Regions from separate parts of the Homo sapiens genome. Here region 1 is linked to region 2. The links are contacts of gene promoters, found by promoter capture Hi-C in blood cells and fetal thymus (Javierre and others, 2016). All regions are on one chromosome and are shown on one strand. The core of a region is centred on a gene start or on the middle of the fragment in contact, and the rest is flanking DNA. Distances in the headings are between cores, read along the strand shown. Region 1 overlaps RELT (RELT TNF receptor). Region 2 holds the start of LAMTOR1 (late endosomal/lysosomal adaptor, MAPK and MTOR activator 1).

What was found. The method cuts DNA at HindIII sites, captures the fragments that hold promoters and counts their contacts. A CHiCAGO score of 5 or more calls a contact.
Region 1: a contact is called between a fragment that was not itself captured here and the fragment with the promoter of LAMTOR1 in region 2, in 1 of 17 cell types (neutrophils). The highest score is 5.4, in neutrophils.

The regions. Positions count from the first base shown.
Region 1 is chr11:73,382,996-73,386,097 of GRCh38, reverse strand. All of the region lies in intron 1 of RELT (RELT TNF receptor), which reads right to left. Among named protein-coding and RNA genes, the nearest start is that of RELT, 8.1 kb to the right of the region's middle. RefSeq lists a silencer at 748-987. The HindIII fragment of the contact is 8,583 bases long and covers 1-3,102 here.
Region 2 is chr11:72,101,638-72,104,862 of GRCh38, reverse strand. It overlaps LAMTOR1 (late endosomal/lysosomal adaptor, MAPK and MTOR activator 1), which reads left to right and starts at 1,566. Exons shown (of 5, transcript NM_017907.3): 1 at 1,566-1,680. The coding sequence starts at 1,639. All of the region lies in intron 5 of LRTOMT (leucine rich transmembrane and O-methyltransferase domain containing), which reads right to left. It also overlaps the pseudogene LOC124902837. RefSeq lists enhancers at 480-1,000, 1,781-1,860 and a silencer at 1,411-1,680. The HindIII fragment of the contact is 8,877 bases long and covers 1-3,029 here.

The DNA of each region.
Region 1 (3,102 bases), core at 599-3,098, 1.3 Mb before region 2:
AGAGATGGGGACGTTCATCTTGCTGGCATGGCTGTCGCGAAGTTTTTGGGGAATTTCTGTTTTGTTTTTTCTGAGACAGTGTCTCACTCTGCCATCCAGGATGGACTGCAGTAGCACGATCACAGCTCACTGCAACTTTGAACTTTTAAGTGATCCTCCTGCTTCAGCCTCCTGAGTAACTAGGACTGCAGGCATGCCCCACCATGCCTGGCTAAATTTTTAAATTTATTTTCTGTAGAGACGGGGTCTCATTATGTTGCCCTGGCTGGTCTCCAACTCTTGGGCTCAAGCGATCCTCTCGCCTTGGCCTCCCAAAGTACTGGGATTCCAGGTGTGAGCCGCTGTGCCCAGCCAGTCATGGGGTTTAAAGGAGGTAATGAAGCTAAAGTAGGTCATGGGATTTCCTTCTCCACAGCCCTTCTCCTCTGCCCTGCTGGCAGAGGGCTGTGATTAAGTATTTGTTTGCTTACTTGTTTATTCCTTGCTCCCCCACCAGACAGTGGTGAGGGCAGGGACGTCTGTTTTATTTGCCACAAAACTCCACACCCAGCCCCATGTCTGAAGCGGGAGGCCTCCAAGCAGGCTCACGAGGCGGGGAGGGTTTCCTCAGACTCAGCTCTCCAAAAAAATGCCCGAACAATGAGAACCAGAAATTCCCTGGAGAAAAGCCAACTAGCAAAGGCCACGGCCAGACCCCCAAGCTGAGGGCCCCAGACCACGATTGAGGCCACAGATGGTGGAGCCCCAGGGAGGTGCAGCCTGGAGGCCTCAGAGAAAGAGGAAGCTGTGCCACCAGCCCAGGCCACAGGCAGCTTCCCCTTTCCCAGAACTGAAGCTCGCTGGGGTCACCCGGGCCCTGCCACGCCACTCCCCCTCCCCTAGGCAGGGCCCTCCCCTTCCCTACAGTCCCTAAGCTCTCCCAAGGCCTGCGCCCATTGCTCTTGCCCCCTTGCCCTGTCTCTGGCCTCCAGGTCAGTCCCGCCCTGCAGCCTAGGTGCCCTGACACCCAGTTCTGGCCCTGGCCCTGGGCCAGCTCCCACCACCCTCAGGATGGCGTCGTGACGCGCCCCCACCAACCTCCCCCACCCACACGCCTGCCACGCTGAGTGCTTTCCACCCTCACACACGCTGCACCTGCTTTCTGCTCTCCCCTCATCGCTTGGCCAGCACCCACTCTTCCTTAGAGCTCAGCTCGAAGTCACTTCCTCCTGGAAGTACCCTCTCCCCCACCTCCCCCTCAGCATTCATGGTGCCATGCAGATCCTATTACCCAGCCCTTTCCCCACCACGAGCTGCCTGCTCCATGCCCAGTGCCGACCTGGGCGGGTATGGGCTGATTTGGGGGAGAAGGCAGAAAAGGCACTCTTGGTAGAGAGCCCAGCTATGCCGAGCTAGAAGAGCCAGTGAGCAGGCTGAGGGGGAAGGAGCCCAGAGGCTGGGGTGGGTCAGAACCCAGATCTGAACCCCTGGGCTAACCTGGGGATACAAAGTATGGGGTGCAGTCCTGCTCTGCTCTGTCTTGCACTGGCTCTGTGGCCTGCCTGCAGAGGGCTGTGGTAAGGCTGAAAGAAGAGAATCACATTAAGTACTCAGCACAGGCCTGGCACAGAGTAAGCATTCCCCACACTTCACTGTGACTCAGTTTCCCTACGTGTGGAATGTGGAGGAGAAGGGCACAAACCTTTTATTTACGTTCAGTGCCTGGCACAGAGTCTGGTATACAGGCGGTGCTGGGTTCGCCCTGGTGGGAATCTGGAGGGTGGGAGGGCGGAGAAGACGGGAGGAGTCTGGAGGAGTCTGGGAAGGTTGGTGGGCAGTGCTCAGGTCACACCAAGGCTCAGCTGCCTGCCAAAAAGCCTGCACTTCCCCCTAGGGCCTATGGGAGCCAGGAAGGGTTAAGCAAGGGATGGAGAAGAATGAACAGTTCGGTCTCAGCAGGCTCCCCAGGCTGCCTGCTAAGAGAGGCCGCACTGGGGGAGATGGAGGTGGGGGCTGGTGCCCACCTGGAGGAGGGCAGGTAGGGAGGCAGCTACTCTGCTTCCCAGATAGTGGCTCCTGAGCCTGTGGACCTCCCTCTGGCCTCCAGAGGCTAGGGTTGCCTGGAAACACAGCTGGACACAGGCCTCCCTTGGCGGTGGCCACACCCAAGGCAGGAAGACAAAGGCCACCCATCAACAGAGAAATCCAGGTTAGCAAGGAGCCCAGCGGTTCCCTGGCAAGTGGGGCTGAAGTAGGGCAGCGACCACGCTGAGTGGCTTTCCCTCTTCCACACTCACAGGGAAAGGAATGGACCCCAGCCCTGTGCAGGCCGGGCCCTCATCCTGGGTTGCTGCCTTTCCTTGCAGGAGAAGTGAGCATTCCTGTTTCACAGCTGGGCAAACTGAGGTCAGGGGAGGTCACTGGCGGGGGTCACACAGCCAGTAAGAGATGAAGCAGGAATGGAGCCCAGGACTGTCTCTTTTCTGCCTCCTTTTGCCCTGCAACTTAGCCCAGGACCTGGCACATAGTAAATGTCCTTGCAGTGTTTGCCAACCTGATGGTGGAGGCTAGCAAGCTAGTAGCACCCAGTAGGTGGCTCAACTGAGGGTCTGTTACTAAGGACCCAGGAGGGCCCCAGGAGAAGGTGCTGTCTGCACCGCCATCCCATGGGGCCTCTAGGAGTTGCCTGCATCTATACTCATTTGCATATTGTTCTAGTCTGTGCCAGCTCTGGCAGGAAAGGGAGCTGTGAACTGAAAGAGGCAGGAAGACCGGGGAAGTCTGGGAATTCCCAGAGCGGGGAAAAAGAGGTCCCAGGGTGGAACCCCAGCTTACTAGGGCTGCTGCTGGAAGCTCAGAGATGTGCAGAGGCTGGCTCAGGGCCACTCAGTGAGACAGGTGCTCCACTCCTGCCCCCTCCCACAGCCCTGGGCAGCCATGAGCTCCCAGGTCACCACGATGGGGTATAAACCAGTCCCTCAAGGGCTGGGGAGCACCTCGAGGCCAGGCAGCAGCTGCTCCCCAGCCCACTCTCAGCAACACCCCCAGAAGTTGGGCATGGTTCTGCACCTCAGACCTCCTGGCTGCCACCAGGCCTGGGTTTCAGTGGCTCAGGTGGATGGG
Region 2 (3,225 bases), core at 317-2,816:
CAGGGACGAGCTTGAGCTGCCTCCTACCCTTCAGGAACCTCAAAAGATTTACAGAACCTCAGGGTCTTGATTTGAGGGGTTATAAGAGGTATGAGATCTGGTGACTTCTCCAATACTTTGGATCAGAAGATGGGGCATGGGGTGAGCCAAGGTGATGGGGTGACTGTAACATGCTCATTGATATGCAAGTTTTCTGTAAGCAAGGCCATGCCTTGGGCTACAGGGAAGAGTCAGAACCTGTCACTGTGCTCCAGGAACTCCCAAGTTTGGTAGGTGAGACTGACCCAGGAACAGAGAATACAATATAGTGTGATCACTATTGGATGTTCCATGACTACAGGGACTTTGGCTGTTTTGTGAACTGCTGCATATCCAGATATAACAATGTGTGGCACATAGTAGACGCTCAGCAAATATTTGTTGATTCAATAAATGCATGAATTAACACTGGATGAGGATTAAGCATAGGGAGCTGGGCATGTCCAGAGAATGGAGTCAGAGAAGGTAATCAGGAGGACATTGTACTGAGTCTCGAAGACAGTAAAGACAGTAGGCAGACCAGGCTGCATGTACAAAGTCCAGTAGATCAATCAGGAAACTACATTATTTCTCTATGTCCAGTGAAACACATTGCTGACCCCTCCACCCCTCACCCCAGAACATGCAGTGGGAGAGGTGTCAGGCTCTTGTTATGTCAGACGGGTAATGTGCCAAAACAAGATTTGAGGGTGGCACATTTGATACATGCTGGTGAACACCCAATCACACGCTCATGAACAACAAATGGATCACTATACAATCTTGGACGGACTTGGACCTGTGTTCAGGGCCCAAGGGAAGACATGGAGCGGGGGTTAGGAAAAGAGAACTGATGGTCAGCTTTGTGCGTTCGATTACAATGGGTGCTGTTAAAAAAGGCAGAATTAAAGATAAAAGCCTGAAAGCAGAGAGGTCAGTGAGGTGGCTTCTATCTCCTCTACCAGGATTTATCTCCGCTGCGCGTCAGCATGTGAAGGTAGTATAAGGTCCCTTCTTCCTGTAAGTCGCAGATCCCCAGCCCAGGTGGAGAATACACCCTCTGTGTATTCACCCCCAGCCCAGCTGGGCGATACACCCTCTGTGTTCCCCGACTAGGTACTGGTCATCTGGATCATCTGTGTGTGTGCACCCAGACCGTACGATCTGGAGCATCAGGCCTGGATCCCAGTCGCCCCTCGCATGGCATTTAGAAGAGTATATCACAAGGGCATACGAGGGCATTTGGTACGAGTTCGCTCAATGGCCCAGAAAAGTGGCCTAGTGGCCACGAGAACGCATAACACAATTCACGATGGCCACTACTGCCAGTTTAGAGACTGGAAAGATGAAGTCATGTGATCCGCCCCGCCCTTTCCCCGCATCACGTGCTTGCGTGTACGGTTACGCCTTCCCATTGGTTGACAACGATCACGCGCTAGCGGGCGGGACCGGAAGCCGGGGTATTGACTGAGGCGGCCAAGCGGCTCCGGGACAGGGGGTACGGGGGGTGGGGGCGGGTGGTTGCCTGCGGGAGGCCGCCGCGGGTCATGTGACCGGAAGGGCTCCTCACGGACGCCGTCCCTCCTCGGCGCGGCCTGAGCGCCCGGCCCGACCCCGGCCATGGGGTGCTGCTACAGCAGCGAGAACGAGGACTCGGACCAGGTGCGGCCGCGGCAGGCGGGGCTCGGGAATGAGGGCTAAGACACTGGGGCATGGGGCCCAGAAAGAAACCTGCGGAGGACGGGCAGCCGGACTGCAGGGCTCACTGAATACGGAGGCCTGGAGGGGACAGATTACAGAGGAGACGCCAAGCCGGGCTCCTACCCCTGTTAAAGCCCCAGATTTCTACACAGTCCCCGCCTCGGGGTGTGCAGGCAGCCGCCTGTCCGGCTCGCTCCCACCACTTCCGTTTGCTCCTACCTTCAAAACTTTTCAGATTCAAGGATCCTCAGTCTAGGTCCCCGGGAAACACTCCCTTCCCCAGCTTCCTGTGTCTTCTGTGTATTAGTGGGCTTTGCGAATCCATTTTAGGGGTGGGTAAGCTGAGGCCCTGAGTTAGTCTGTCCTGAGATGAATCAGGAATTCGTGTATCGTCTTAGTCCCTGGGGTTGCAGAAGGAAGGTCGCTGCTAGTCTAGGGCCAGGGGACGACTCTGGAAGTTGGTGGCCTTTGAATTGGCCAATGAAGGATTTAATCGATACAGTGAGGACATCGGGACATGTGGGAAATTGTCTGGGAAGCAACAAAGAGGATTTAGCTTTGGCTAGATTGTGGGAAAAGAGAAATGGAGCGGGAAGTTCATTTGGTTCTGAGTTTGGCTTGCCTCAGTGCAGTCTGCCTGGGGCCTGAGGGTTCCTTTAGCTGGAGACATGCCTATTCTGAGAATTTGGCTGTAGATCTGATACCTTTGGAGAAAGGGTTAGGCTGGGGAGACCTGTACAGTTTTAAATTCTCCCTCTTCCTCTTAGTGCATTCTCACTTCTCCCCACACTCTAATCCCTGCCCTGCCTGGCCTGACATTCAAGGATGAAGTCTCAAGTTGCTGTCTACTCTCCTTTTTTGATCGTCTCTAAGCCCGGATTCTACATTTGAACATATAGTAGACCTGAGAGAGTAGAAAGGTTTCAGGTAGCTCACGGTCTAATGGGGAAGATGGTCACAAAAATAGATTATATCACTGGTACTTGGGAAGTAGTTCGTTCTTCAGTGAACGTATTTTGGATTAAGGGCTTAAGCCTAGGAAAATGTCGTTTGTATGGGAAGCAAGGGTGGCTTCTGGTTCTCAATTCTCCATACACCCAATGAACACATATTTCCTTTGCCCTGTGTTAGGCATGTGTTGTGCCTAATACCTCTCACTTCACTTCCACCTTTTTGAGAAAGAGACAACAATAACCCTGCCTACTGGGAGAGCTGTAGCCTAGTGGGAAATTGTCCCTTAAAGCATAATATGGACTCTTGCAGGGAATGAGTCAAGAAGGATTAATGCCGTATGAGAAAGGATACAAGCTTCTACTTGGAAGGGAGAGCTGGGCCTGCTGCTCTCCTGAATCTCTACCTTCTCCTTGGGGGGCTCTCATTTCTGTTCCTAACACCCAGAGAAGGTGCTTAATCACTGCTGGGTGATTTGAGGCCTCATGTAGCAAGGGCCATAACCATCCACCATCCCACAGTCCCTCTTTGAGTTCTTGGGCAGGCCCCTCTCCG